3 separate regions of the Homo sapiens genome follow, and all the other regions are linked to region 1. The links are contacts of gene promoters, found by promoter capture Hi-C in blood cells and fetal thymus (Javierre and others, 2016). All regions are on one chromosome and are shown on one strand. Each heading gives the region's core, a stretch centred on a gene start or on the middle of the fragment in contact. The rest is flanking DNA. Distances are from core to core; before and after follow the strand shown.

Region 1 (4,961 bases), core at 653-3,152:
TCTACTAAGCGAGTATGACCCCATGGGTTGAGGAGAATTGAAGTCACAAGACCTGCAGTGTCACCACATCCACGTCCTTTGCCAGCCGAGAAAAATGCGCATCAGTTTGCCACACAGTTACTGCAGTTACATCACCACCATTCAATGCCTGACTTCTTCATTCGCTTGCCATGACATCTAATTAAACACATTAGAAGTTGCAACGTCTCTCAGAAATTGGAAATCAGTTAAAATTTAATTCCAGATAAAAAGGAGGAGGTTCTAGAACCCCTCAAAATGCCCACCATCATACCCAGAGGAGTGGAGTAGCTGGGAATAGTACCGTCTTGGGCTTTTTCACTTGGACTGGGCACTCAGGCCACAATGTTATGCCCCTGAAAGCAGGTTCCTTCCTGCTATCTTCCTTTTCCATCCTTTTCTATTTTTGTCCTAGCGATGAGCAGTCTCTAACCAAGCCTAGTGTACTACAGGAACTAATAAGTAATCATAATGATAGCAAACACATATTTCACACTTATTTAGGATGAGTTAGGAGCTCTTCTAAGTAATTTATACATAGTCAAGTGCCACATAACATTTTAGTCAATGCAACAGTGGTCCCATAAGATTACAATACTGTATTTTTACTGTATGTTTCCTATGTTTAGACACACAAGTACTCACCACTGTGTTACAACTCCCTACAGCATTCAGTAGTCGCATGCTGTACAGGTTTGTACCTAGGATCAACAGGCTATGCCATGTAGCCTCCGTGTGTAGTAGGCTGAACCATCTAGGTTTGTGTAAGTACACCCTGATGTTCACACACACAGGAAAATTGCCTAAGGATGCATTTCTCAGACGTGACACATAATTGTACTTCAATTCATTTAAGTCTCATAATAACCTTAGGAGGTAGGTTCCATCATTATCTTCATTTACATTTGAGGAGACTGCAAAGTCCCGAAGAAATCTTACACTGAACCACGGGGAAAAGAACTCTGGTCTGAACCCACAAGTCAAAGTATGTCTGAGGGTTCTCAATTCCAGCAAGGGAAGGGAGGGGGTTAAAGAGTAGAACTAACTTACATGGGAAGCTTTGCTGCCTGGGCAAGCAGCTTCTGGTGGATTTCCTGAAATTCAGCAGGGTGGGGCCGCCTCTCCAATCAGACTTCACTTTACTATACTATGGGGTCATTAAATAGAGGAGCCAGGAGTTCAGGACTCCCTCCCTCTTCTTCAAAAGGAAAACTGGGTGTGGGGAGGGTACATTACCTCACAGAATATTGGAGAAAGCCTAAATGTGTCCTCCAGTGATTCATTTGGGTGGACTACTTTCACACCAAGCTAAACTCAAAAGTTCGGAGTGGGGTCATCAGGGCCCCTCCCTCCCTGAGTGCAAGAAACATTTCCTCTTTTTAAAGTACAGGCAGAGTTGGAATCAAACTCCTTCCAAACAGGAAATCAGCAAGATTCTAGGTAAAACTGATACCTTACTTTTAAAGGTCAAGCTCTTTCCTTCACCAAGAGCGTGTTTCCTGAGCACCTACTATGTGCCAGGCATGTGGTAGGTAGTTGTTATGAATCTTGATGTGCCCTGCGCTCTGCAGGGGGGCGGAGGTGGAAGGGAACACAAAGAAAGAACAGATACCAACACTGCCACCCCCGCCTCCCCCCACCCCCCCCCACACACTCATTTGGCAAAGCTTACAGGAAAAAAAGGGTTTTAGGGGGCTTGTGGTGGTTTTTTTTTCCCTAAAAATAATAGAAATGGTAAAAAGAGGCTTCGGACCCCTCGCGTGAGTCCCTTAAAGTGACTGGATTGAGACCTGGGCAGGGAAAGTGGGAGGCCCGAGCGAGGGGGAGGGCGCAGGCAGTGGGTGGGTGACAAGGTGCAAGGGCAGCGCCGGCTTCGGATCGGGAGTTGGCCGTCAGCTGCGCCAGAGGCAGGTGCCAGCGGAGAGTGGGTGGGGGTGCCGGCGCCAGGCCAGGCTCGGGGAGGCCCCGCGCTACCTCTGCCTCTAGGAGTCCAGGCGCACAGACAAGCTCCCCGGAGCCGCTCCTGCTTCGCCAACTCCCCACTCGCGCCGCCCGTGCCAGCCGCCGGCACTGGCGTCTCCGCCGCCCGCAGGAGGAGTCGCGGGAGCACTAGCAGCCGCCGCCGAGCGACAGCATCCTCAGGAGAGACGCCCCGGGCTTTGCAGCCGGCGGCCTCCGTCCGCCCTCCGCGGTCGCCCCCCGCCCCGTCGCCCGTCCGCCCGCGGTGGCAGCCGGCGCCGGCGCCCCGGGGCCCTTCACCTGCCGCGAGCGTCCGGGCGGGCGGGCGCACGGGAGAAAAGGCGCAAGAAGCGGGCACCCCGGGAACCCCATTCCCTCGGCTCACTCGGCGCGGAGAAGCGACGCCCGCTGACTCCGAGAGCCCCGGTGCTCCGTGCACCTGGTCCCCAAGTTGAGGAGCGACACCCCTCCACAGGGGACTAGCCCGCGCGGGGAGCATTCCGGTCTCACTGACCCCGGCCCACCCGCGGGACTCCAGGCACCTCTTCTGCCCGCACCCCGCGACCCCTCCCGGGACCCCGGAGACAGCCGGCCTGCCCCCGGCGTCCCCCTTGGCCAGCACGCCATGCCGGGGCTGCGCCGGGACCGCCTACTGACTCTGCTGCTGCTGGGCGCGCTGCTCTCCGCCGACCTCTACTTCCACCTCTGGCCCCAAGTACAGCGCCAGCTGCGGCCTCGGGAGCGCCCGCGGGGGTGCCCGTGCACCGGCCGCGCCTCCTCCCTGGCGCGGGACTCGGCCGCAGCTGCCTCGGACCCCGGCACGATCGTGCACAACTTTTCCCGAACCGAGCCCCGGACTGAACCGGCTGGCGGCAGCCACAGCGGGTCGAGCTCCAAGTTGCAGGCCCTCTTCGCCCACCCGCTGTACAACGTCCCGGAGGAGCCGCCTCTCCTGGGAGCCGAGGACTCGCTCCTGGCCAGCCAGGAGGCGCTGCGGTATTACCGGAGGAAGGTGGCCCGCTGGAACAGGTGAGGACCCCGCCCGGGACGCGGGAGAGCGGGCGCTCTGGCCGGGGCCTCCCCGCGCCCCAGTCTCGAGTTTCCTGACGCCCCCGGCCCAGGGCTGCAGCGGCTCCACCCACGGCTCCAGCCCTGGCGCTGGGCTTAGAGTGTGTTCCCCACCCGAACCCCACCAGCTGTTGCAGACCTCACAGTCCAGTCCCGGAGTCAGATAGTACGAGGAAAAAGTTTCTATTGCAGCCGCACAGCGAAGAAACGCTCTCAGCCCCTTCCCCTTGAGCGCCTGGGTCGTCGTTGAGCCCCACTCCTGCTCCCTCGTCCACTCCCGCTCCCTCGTCCGCTCCCAAACCCCACTCTCTGTCCTGATGTGGAGGAAAGCTGCCGCTGGACTTCGGGTTTCCAGAATGAGGCCCCAAACAGGGTGACTCCAGAGCTAGTTGAAATTCAGCACTTAACTGTGCTCTTTGGGTAAACCTGGGCGCCTTCCAGAAAGCATGTTTCTCCCCAAAACCCAGTTCTTTCCCTTTCCTTATTCCTCTGCCCAGTTTCAGAGATCACAAGGGGGTCATCTGAGGCAGGAAGTAAATGGTCAGTTCTCTGCCGCAGCCACCCCATTGTTCACATTTAAAACGCGGCTTGGGCCCATCCAGCAAGTATTAGAACTTGAAGGCACTTTTATCGTCTTGTATGATCCTGGTGATTTGGACTGACTTGGATCTGCGGCTTGATGCTTCCACAGACGAGAAAAAAATCTTTCAGGGAATTTTTTAAACCCAAAGCAAAATACAGAGGAAAAAATATCAAATATATTTAGGATAAAATTAAGAATCTTTCTGGAAAAGGATGGGGGTGTTAGGGAAGGCAGCACGCTCATTACTGAGATCCCTTGCTAGTGGCAGGAAGCCTTCGTATGAGTTAAGGACTCTGTTTTGAAGTACAGAACTTGTCTAAATACCACTCACATGCAGAGTTCACTATCGCACCACACCCATCTCTTTACTTAATACAAGAGATTTCAAAGTAAGATGTCATCGGTGGTTTTATGGTCCCTCCAGAGGATGAGCAGACCATAAATCTCTCTTGAAACTCAGAGCTGGGCCAATTTAACTGTTTGCTCATTATTTTGTAATGCTGAGATTGAAGGGAGAAAAAAAAACCTTCAGAAATTTTTGCAAAGGAATAAGTTGAGTTGTTGGCTGAATCACTGTGGTGAATTTCAGTAGTAACTCTACGGCTCACATTTTATGTTAGAAAGAAAGTGATTCTCAATTCCACGTTAACTGTGTGCAGTAATAAAAGGCAGTTTGAGATTGCTTCTCAGACACTGTCATTTTCAATATTATCTTTATTTCGTCAATAACATGGAAGTCTGGCTTAGTGAACCAGGAAATTTTGCCCTTAGAAAAAGTATCTATATGTCTACTATGGATCTGAGAATGAGAGACTTTGGACAAAGTCACTTGCTTTTGTAAATGTGATCAGCATTCATTTAGTCACATTTCTGTGGTCTTAAACTTCCCGGTGTTACTTTGGACCCGAAGCAAAGTCCAGGGGAATATTATGGCAGAAAAGCAAAAATCTTTCTCACCAAACTGTTCTACAATCAGTTTTAAGCTTGATTTCTACACCATTATGTGTCAACAAAGACAAAAAAAACTCGCAAAAACACACATACTTTCTGACCAGAAATGATCTTGGTCATTTAACAGAAGATCAAGTGGGGGCTGGTGACCTTACTATATTCAGAGATCACAGAGTAGTTTTGTGTGGTTGCTCAAATGTGACATTTTCCCAAGTAAGGTTTGTGGGCCACAACAGGAGGACCCGCTGCACTTATAAATGTTAAAACTGGACCTCAGAGGCAGAGAACACTCTCCTTCCACCCAAACTGGATAGTAAATGTTAACATGAACATATTAATAAGCAGATGTGTTGTTACTTATATCAGGGTTAAAAATGAAACA
Region 2 (4,961 bases), core at 1,242-3,741, 660 kb before region 1:
AACTTGTTTAAATTGTGGATTTGGGAAGTGACTGTGATCTTTATGTTCTTAACTGGCAAACTAACATGCCCGTCCCTTTTATCCTTTAACAGAGGTATTAAGTAGTCAAGGTGCTAAATTCTTATTAATGGAAAAAAAATAGATGAAAGTGATTGTCATCATTAGGGCCTTGGAGAAATTGCTAAGTATACAGAGGTTCTTTGGTATTCTTTCACTTTCTTTTTACGCCTTTCCCTTTTGTTTTCCTTCAGGCATATAGCGATCTTGTACAGTCTTTGGTTGTTCAAAGCCTCCCACTTTTTCACTCTGCTGAGATTATATCTTACTGCTCTAATAAAAATTCTGATCTTCTTCATGGATGATCTTAATTCAGTAAAAACAAATTTGTCTAAATTAATTTACAGACTGTGATGAATAATGAGCTCATTATTTTAATAAATTCTAAAAAAATAAATTGTAGGCCAGGCGTGGTGGACCACGCCTGTAATCCCAGCACTTTGGGAGGCCGAGGTGGGCGGATCACCTGAGGTTGGGAGTTCGAGACTAGCCTGACCAACATGGAGAAACCCCGTCTCTACTAAAAATAGAAAAAAAATTAGGGCGTGGTGGTGCATGCCTGTAATCCCAGCTACTCAGGAGGGTGAGGCAGGAGAATCACTTGAACCCGAGAGGCGGAGATTGCAGTGAGCCGAGATCATGCCATTGCACTCCAGCCTGGGCAACAAGAGCAAAAACTCCATCTCAAAAATAAATAAATAAATAAATAAATAAAATAAATAAATACATTCTAATAAAAATTTTGTTATTTGTTTACTATAAAAGTAACACATATCTCTATTTTTAAAATAATATTCAATTTTTGTTAAATATACTCATTGTAGTAATGTATAAATTATAGAAAAGTATAAGGAATATAGAAATCCATAACCCACTGCACAATAATAAAATTTACTGGACATTTGCATTTTCTTTCTTGTTTCAACTGAAACATTTTTTTTCCAATATAAATTTTTTATTTTTATTTATTTATTTTTTAATTTTTTTATTTATATATATATATATTTTTATTATACTTTAAGTTTTAGGGTACATGTGCACATTGTGCAGGTTAGTTACATATGTATACATGTGCCATGCTGGTGCACTGCACCCACTAACTTATTTTTAATTAAAGTTTCTATTTTGAGATAGTTGTATATTCATGTTTGTTTGTTAGAAATGACAGAGAGATCCTGTGTACTCTTTACATTTTGTCCCAATAATAACATCTCGTAAAATTATAGTACAATGTAACAGGGTATTGGCATTGACACAGTCAAGATACAGAACATTTCTGTCACCAAAAAGATTCCCATTTTTTGCTCTTTCCTAGCCTCTCTGACCTGTGGCAACCACTACTCTGTTCTCTATTTCTGTAATTTTGATAGTTCAAAAATGTAAAATGGCATCACAATAAGTTTTCTTTTGGGATTGGCTTTTTTCAAATAGCATTTTTTTTGAAGTTCATCCTATTTGTATTTATCAATAATCCATTCCTTTTCATTGCTGAGTAATATTCCATGGTATGGATACATCACACTTTCTCTAACCATTTGCCTGTTGAAGAACATTTGGATTGTTTTCCGTTTTTGGCTTTTGTAAAGTTGCTGTGGACATTTGCATACAGGTTTTGTGTAAACATCATTTTCATTTCTCTGAGATAAATGCCCAAGAGTGCAATTGCTGAATTATACATGTTAATTTTATAAGAAATTGCCAAATTATTTTCCAAGATGAGTGTTCCATTTTATGTTATCCCTACCAGCAGTGTGTGAATGACAAAAGTTTGAATTATCCAAAATAATTGCATTTGCCTTAGCTTATGTTTTTATTCTTGTATTAGAATTTACATGTGTCTCATGTTCTCATAATTCATTGAACAGAAAACTTGCCAATTTTGTTCATTTCTCCTCTTCTTAACTAATCTTTATATTTCATGCTTCCTTTATCTCTGTGGACAGCTCTTTCATATAATACCTTCAGTTATTAGGAGTAGATATTTTTATAGATGACAAAAATCAACTAAATAAAATTGTTAGGTATTTGGATTTATGAAATATTTTAGAAATTTCAAATTAAATGAGAACATGAGATAGGAAAACTATGATCATTTGAGTTTACCATTAACAAACTTGTGACGTAAATAACACCTTAGATTTATATGCTATACCAGTGTACACAAAAGGCTTTGAACATTTCAAAAGCTTTCACTTAAGCTGAAAGCCTTATGTAAATCCAAAGGATACTTGGCAATTTATTAGTGTTTTTATTTATGAAAGGTTCATTTTTAAAACTGAGAATTCTTTTTCTGTGTAAACATGTCTTCCCATCTGTTTCCACAGTATTTCAAAAGTAGTAATGTTTTGGCTATTTATTATTTGTATAGCTGTAACCCCAACCGCCATGACACCTTTTGCTTTATTTTAATCTCAGTTTCTTGGCAGCACTACTGTATTCTGATTCTTAAAAATTTTGTTGAAATTGTTACATCTCAGAAATAATGAGCCAAATTAAAGGCTAAATGGAATTTGTATTTAGTGTGAGGGGGACTTTTATTACCTATAAGCCTGGAATGTAACCTTTTTGGTTTTGCTGATGTAAAATTAAGAGATCTACAATAATTTACTAATTTATTTGTGTGTTTCTAAAGTGTCTAAAATTATAATAAATTGTTTTTCATTTTTTTTAGATCAAAGCTTATACTCAACTTAAACTTTCAGGTCTTTTGCCATCTGCATATTGGATTGGACAAGCTGTTGTTGATATCCCCTTATTTTTTATCATTCTTATTTTGATGCTAGGAAGCTTATTGGCATTTCATTATGGATTATATTTTTATACTGTAAAGTTCCTTGCTGTGGTAAGTTAACGTTAGTTGTACTCATGCTATTTATAGATAGAATGTTATTTAAAATCTGTTATAAACATGACAGTTGACTTATTGCATAATTTGGTTATTAATTTGTTAAAGAAAATAGAGCAAGTGTGTCTGGTATTTAATACATGTAATCATTTTATATGATAAGTGACTTTTAAAAACAATAACTTACCACCATTTTAAAATAATTTCTTGAAACTAAAGTGATCTTTCATGTAGACCACCTACTTGGGTGTAATCAGGAACGTTTTAATATATTCCTTCCTTAAAATGCCTTCCTTCGTTTTTCTTATGCCTGAAAATAATTTCACAAAGGATAAGCTCTTTTATTCCATAGTTTAAAATATAGCTTAACATTTCTCTATCTCAATAATGGGCAGGCTGCGAGCCAGATGAAGAACACAACTCCATTTACAATAGCCACAAAAAATTAAAATACCTAGGAATACATCTAACAGAGGAGATGAAAGATCTCTACAGGGAGAACTACAAAACATTGGTGAAGGAATTCAGAGATGATACAAGCAAATGGAAAAAAATTTCATGCTCATGGATTAGAAGACTCAATATATTAAAGTGGCCATACTGCCCAAAGCAATCTACAGATTCAACACTATTCCTATCAAACTACCAACATTATTCATCACAGAATTTTAAAAAGCTATTCTAAAATTCATATGGAACCCCAAAAGTACCCAGATGGCTAAAGGAATCCTACATAAGCTGGGCGCGGGGGCTCATGCCTATAATCCCAGCACTCTGGGAGACCGAGACGGGTGGATCACGAGGTCAAGAGATCAAGACCATCCTGGTCAACATAGTGAAACACCATCTCTACTAGAAATACAAAAAAATAGCTGGACGTGGTGGCATGCGCCTGTAGTCCCAGCTACTCAGGAGGCTGAGGCAGGAGAATCGCTTGAACCGGGGAGGTAGAGGTTGTGTTGAGCCAAGATCGTGCTACTGCACTCAAGCCTGGGCAACAGAGAGAGACTTTTTATCAAAAAAAAAAAAAAAAAGGAATCCATGTAAAAAGAACAAAGCCAGAGGCATTTCATTACCTGACTTCAAACTATACTATAAAGGCTCCAGTGACCAAAACAGCATGGTATTGGTACAAAAACAGACATGTAGACCGATGAAACAGAATGGAGGACCCAGAAATAAAGCCACACATCTATAGCCATCTGATCTTCAACAAAATTGATAAAAATAAGCAATAGGAAAGGACTCTGTGTTCAATAAATGGTGCTGGGATAGCTGGCTAGCCATATTCAGAAGAATGAAATTGGACCTCCACCTTTCACCGTATGTAAAAAGTAACTCAAGATGGATTAAAGATTTAAGGGTAAGACATCAACTATAAGAATTCTACAAGAAAACATAGGAAATACCATTCTGGACCTTGGGAAAGAATTTATGGGTAAATAAGTCTTCAAAAGCAATTGCAACAGAAATAAAAATTGACAAGTGGCACCTAATTAAACTAAAGAGCTTCTGCACAGCAAAAGAAACTATCAACAGAGTAAATGGATAACATACAGAATGGGAGAAAATACAAACTATGCATCCAACAAAGGCCAAGTATCCAGAATCTATAAGGCACTTAAACAATTCAGCAATCAAAAAACAAAACTCCATTAAAAAGTGGGCAAAAGATATGAACAGACACTTCTCAAAAGAAGACATGCAAATGGACAACAAATGTATGAAAAAATGCTCTACATCACTAATCATCAGAGAAATGTAAATCAAAACCACAGTAAGATACCATCTCATGTCAGTTAGAATGGCTATGATTAAAAAGTCAAAACCAACAGATGCTGGCGAGGCTGCAGAGAAAATGAAATGCTTATATACTCTTATATACTCTTGGTGGGAATGTAAACTTCAGCAGCCATGGAAAGCAGTTTGGAGAGTTCTCAAAAAACTTAAAACAGAACTACCTTATAACTCAGAAACCCCATTACTGGGTATATATCCAAAAGAAAATAAATCATTCTACCAAAAAGACACATGAGTATGTTCATTGCAGCACTATTCA
Region 3 (4,961 bases), core at 865-3,364, 640 kb before region 1:
GTTCTCAAGAATTTCAAGCATCATTTGGTGTTTCTTTCGTTTTTGAGATAGGGTCTCACTTTGCTGCCTAGGCTGGAGTACAGTGGCACAATCCCGGCTCACTGCAGCCTCAAGCTCCCAGGCTCAGGTGATCCTCCCACCTCAGCCTCCTGAGTAGCTGGTACTACAGGCATGCACCACTGCACTCAGCTAATTTTCGTATTTTTTGTAGAGATGGGGTTTTGCCATGTTGCCCAGGCTGGTCTCAAACTCCTGGGCTTAAGGGATCCTCCTGCCTTGGCCTCCCAAAGTGTCGGAATTACAGGTGTGAACCACTGTACCTGGCCTTCAAGCATCGTAAAAATAGGCAAAATACACAAAACTTCCTGGTTATAAGGCTTGCAGCCACACTTGCATAAATATAGTAATGTGTTGCATAACAACATTTTGGTCAAAAATGGGCCACATAGTAAGATGATAAAATATAATACTGTATTTTTCTTGTACCTTTTCTATGTACACAAATATTTACTATTGTGTTACAGTTGCCTACAGTATTAAGTATAGTAGCATGCTGTCCAGGTTTGTAGCCTAGGACCAACAGGCTGTATCATATAGCCTAGATGTGTAATAGGCTATTGCCTTAGCACAGTGACAAAATTGCCTAATGATGCATTTCCCAGAACATATCCCTGTTGTTACGTGATGTGTGTGCAAGATTCTCAAATAAATACAGTATCAGTACACTAATCAGAAGTAATTTTTTCACCGTGTCTACATATATACCTTTGCAGAGTTACACATTTGCCAATAAAAGAGCTATCTCACACTATCAAAATTTATCCCTTTGATAATTTGAGACCAAGAGATGGATGCTAATTAGGTTTCTCAGTTAACAATTGGGACTGATCAAGGGGTATCTATCAACTAAACTAAATAATGATATAAGCATAGAACCTGGATCTGCCTTCTAAGACTAAACTGGCAACTGTTGAGGTGGCCCTTCTTTTATGTTCAAACTTTGATTTTTGAGCTTTAAGTTGTGAGTTAACCCAATCTAAGTTTCAGGTTTTTGCAACCCAGTATTTTCCGCTAAAACAAGATGTTTTTTAGGTTTTATTATTACGTTTCATCCAAATTCATGATAATAGGACTTTCCAGCTTCTGTGTTGTGACTATAGTATAACGTGCTTAATTAATGAAAATGAATTCCTCAGACCGGGTGCAGTGGCCCACACCTGTAATCCCAGCACTTTGGGAGGCTGAGGGTCAGTAGTTCGAGACCAGTCTGGCCAACATGGTGAAACCCTGTCTCTACTAAAAATATAAAATTAGCTGGGTGTGGTGGCACGTGCCTGTAATCCCAGTTAGTTGGGAGGCTGAGGCAGGAGGATTGCTTGAACCCAGGAGGCAGAGGTTGCAGTGAGCCAAGATCGCGCCACTGCACTCCAGCCTGGGCGGCAGAGCGAGACTCTGTCTCAAGAAAAAAACAGAAAGAAAGAAAATGAATTCCTCACCTGGGTTGCAATTTTACTTTCCTTTCTGTTTTGTAATTCTTATATGTCTAATTAACCATAATACTATAGTCATTTTACTGACAGAATAATACCATTATTGTTTTGGTTCACCTTATCTAATTTTTATTTATTAACATATCTTTGTCATATAGTTGTAGGAAAAGATGTTGAGTGCTAGTTGTGATGTATATGTATTGGCTAGTAATTTCTTTGGCCAAATTATACTATTGATATTGTTATGTGATTATGATGTAGTTGATATTGGTTTTCTGTTGACTACATTTAAATTCTCATACATCAGTGTACATGAAATCAAGTTTGTGATAGAATGAGATTAAAATTATACATCAAGCTTTACAAATTGGTAAGAAATCTCAGCTTCTAGTGTTATCATATCTGCTAATTTTAAAAGGCCTTATCTGTATCTTCTAATTCTTTAGTAAGTAGGCATCCTTTGAATTTACCTTCACCAAATTAAGACACTAGATAGTTTTTAGAGCCGTCTATGATGGTGCCTAAAGTCTTTAAGTTTCAAAGAAAGACTGCTTTTCATTATTATTCAGTATTCACAAATATTTTATTGTATGTCAGTTAAGAATCAAGCACTTTTCTAAGCACTAGGCATATACATTATTGAAACAATAGACAAAAGTCTCTGCCCTCACTGAGCTTTTATTATAGTAAGACAAATTACCTACTTTAAAAAAATACATAGTATGTTAGATGATGGGGAGGGAGATAAGGACTCTTGGTGCTGCAGATGAAAGCACACTGATCTCATGTAGGCAAGACTACACTGAGAAGGTGAGTTGGTACTGCAAGTACAAAGGCCCTGAGGCAAGGTGTGAGTGGCATATTTGAGAAACAGAACCAGTGAAGCTTTAGCTAACTGATTAAGGGGGACACTAGTGGAAGATGGGATCGAAAGGGCCCTTATGGACATTTTATTGACATTCAATGAGATCAGAAGTCATTGGAGGGTTTTGAGTAGAGGTGTGGCAACATTAGGCATATTTGAAAGGAACAGTTTAGCTGCTGTGTTGAAAATAATCAGATATGAGGGGACAGAGCACAAGAGACCTGTTAGGAGGCCATTGCATTTGATGAGGCAAGAGATGGTGAGTTGAATCAGGAAGGTGAATAAGAAGTGGTCTAATTCTGAATATTGAGAAGGTGGAGATTATAGTACATGGAGTATGGGAGAAAGGGAGTCAATGACACAAGGGCTTTTTGTTTTTTGTTTTGTCTGAGCCTCTGGAAGAGTAGAATTATCAGCAATTATGTCTCTGAACGTATCTTCTACTAGTATCATCAAGTGGATGAAGAAGACCGTGGAAGTTTAGGTTTGAGGATTTGAGGGAAAGATCAGTTTTGTATTTGTTAAGTTTGAGATGCTCATTAGACATCCAAGTGGAGATGTCCAGTGAGCAAAGGAAATAAATACTGGGAGCAGTGTTAGTTTTGGAACCCATTCACAAGCTGAGAGTCAGGGGGTATTGATGGTACAGCAAGGCCCTAGCAGTAGTGAAACATAGGTAATGTTAACTGAAGCACACTGCCAGAAGGCAAGGGGTCTTACCCAGAGTAAGGAAATTCTGAGAACAGATTTGAGACCCAGTGGCACAAATCTTAGCTACTGAAGAACTGAAAAGAAGGAAATTGTAAAGTGAAATTGAGTTTGTGATTGATTTCTTGGGAAAGCACTGCTGGGAAAGAGGAAGACAACTTTGGAAGGGGCCCATCCCTTGGAGGCTTGATGATGTAGAGAAGTCAGGCAGCTGAAGAGTTCTACAGAAACAAGTTAATATCACAGTCAGAAGACAGACCACCAAAATCTCACCACATGGTACTATTTACTAAAGAAATTGCATTTCACTGTACCAACCGAAGAGTGCTTTAGTTTGGAAACTAGGTTAGCCACTCCAAACCCTCCATTTCCTCTATTCTGGGACCATAGAATGGCCCATTGTTCAGGCTCCTGTGGATGCTGAAATGAACTGCCTATATTCCCCTTCAGAAATAAAGAACTTATTTCTCCTGCCTCTGAGAGTGCTACCATCAAACGGGTCACACTTTTCAACTCCCTAGGGCAGCCTTAGCAAACTAATACAAGCCCCATTCCAGGATCTGCTCCTAACTTCCTTCCTAATGGCCAATAACAAGGATTAAGACATAAAGTAACTTGGCGAAAGTTGTGCTGGTATTTCTGAGGGAAGAAATGTACTGTATCACACAAGAGCTGCAGGAGCTAGCCACATCTACCCATAAGAGCTAGGAGAATGTGCATGGGACTGGATTTTAAGGGTGCATGATCAAACAATGCAGAACATAAAGTTGGATAAGAGTTTATTCAGAGTACTCTTCTGGCCTAAAGGATTTTTAATGTCCTGGCAAGAATCCCAAGAGATGGTTCTTAGCAAGAACACACTGTTAAGATGCTTCCTGCATGGAAAAAGCAATTGCCCACCCAATGTCATGTATAAATATTGAAAAGCCATGGTACATGATGCAAGAAAAGGGTGAAAACACCCAGAAAACCAGGCATCCTGCGTGGGTGTACTATATGAGTTTGGAAAACACAGTAGATGACTAAATTCAAACGAACAAGGAAGGTACTATTGAAGGGCACGCCAACGTCACTATACAGCTAGAGGTGGCTGTCCTGTGAGCTGATGGTAAGTGATACCATGATAACACTGGGCTCACAGAGAGCAATGGGGGTGATAAAATCCTGACTAATAGAGGCCGGGTGGCAGCACTCAACAATTAGAAACCTAAGAAACCATGGGGACACAATTACTGTAAAAAGAACTGCAGAGCTCTCAACACAGAACAACTCTGTCGAAAGCCTGACACTGAGAGACTTGACCAAATTTTAGCACGGCCTCTAGCAGCATAAGGCAGTGTCTGTAGGGTGATCGCAGGTCCCTACCCCCATTTAAATAACAGTCTGAGAAAGCTCAATACTACCAGAAAAATCTACTTTTTGTTGTAGCCAACACATGATAACAGGCCCCTGATCTGATTTCTTAGAGCATTTATTTACTAAAAGGAGCTTACAATTATAAATATGTATCTTTTGCAGCTCACATGTTTCTTTCTCCAACGACCTGGGAACCATTCTTTTTAAAAATAGTTATCAAGAAGGATAAGGCCTCTGTCTTCCAGTCTCTGTGAGAGGATAGAATCCTAACTGATAATTGCCAGCTAAGAAACACAGCTGACCTAATCACATTCACACTGACCAACCCTTTGTACTTTTCTATTTCTCTGACTCTGCTGAGCCCCTACAACCTCCCTACTCCCACTCTCCTTTTTAAACACCCCAATCACCTCTGTACAGATCAGAAGGCAGCTCAGCTCTTTCCCCTACTGTCAGTAGTTACCAAATAAAATTTGTTTTCACTGCTTTAGTTTTTAGGCCATGTTATCTTTGACAACAGCTAGGCTGTGGGGGATGGGGAC

What was found. The method cuts DNA at HindIII sites, captures the fragments that hold promoters and counts their contacts. A CHiCAGO score of 5 or more calls a contact.
Region 2: a fragment that was not itself captured here is called in contact with the fragment with the promoter of FAM20A in region 1 in 2 of 17 cell types (erythroblasts and monocytes); the score reaches 6.1 in erythroblasts.
Region 3: a contact is called between a fragment that was not itself captured here and the fragment with the promoter of FAM20A in region 1, in 2 of 17 cell types (M0 macrophages and monocytes). The highest score is 7.6, in M0 macrophages.

Annotation. Positions count from the first base shown.
Region 1 is chr17:68,598,308-68,603,268 of GRCh38, reverse strand. FAM20A (FAM20A golgi associated secretory pathway pseudokinase) reads left to right here and starts at 1,902. Exons shown (of 11, transcript NM_017565.4): 1 at 1,902-3,006. The coding sequence starts at 2,603. The HindIII fragment of the contact is 2,926 bases long and covers 1,688-4,613 here.
Region 2 is chr17:69,262,673-69,267,633 of GRCh38, reverse strand. It overlaps ABCA5 (ATP binding cassette subfamily A member 5), which reads left to right. Exons shown (of 39, transcript NM_172232.4): 24 at 2,729-2,899. Among named protein-coding and RNA genes, the nearest start is that of PRO1804, 30 kb to the right of the region's middle. The HindIII fragment of the contact is 492 bases long and covers 2,246-2,737 here.
Region 3 is chr17:69,238,981-69,243,941 of GRCh38, reverse strand. It overlaps a transcript of ABCA10 not described here. Among named protein-coding and RNA genes, the nearest start is that of PRO1804, 6.4 kb to the right of the region's middle. The HindIII fragment of the contact is 527 bases long and covers 1,851-2,377 here.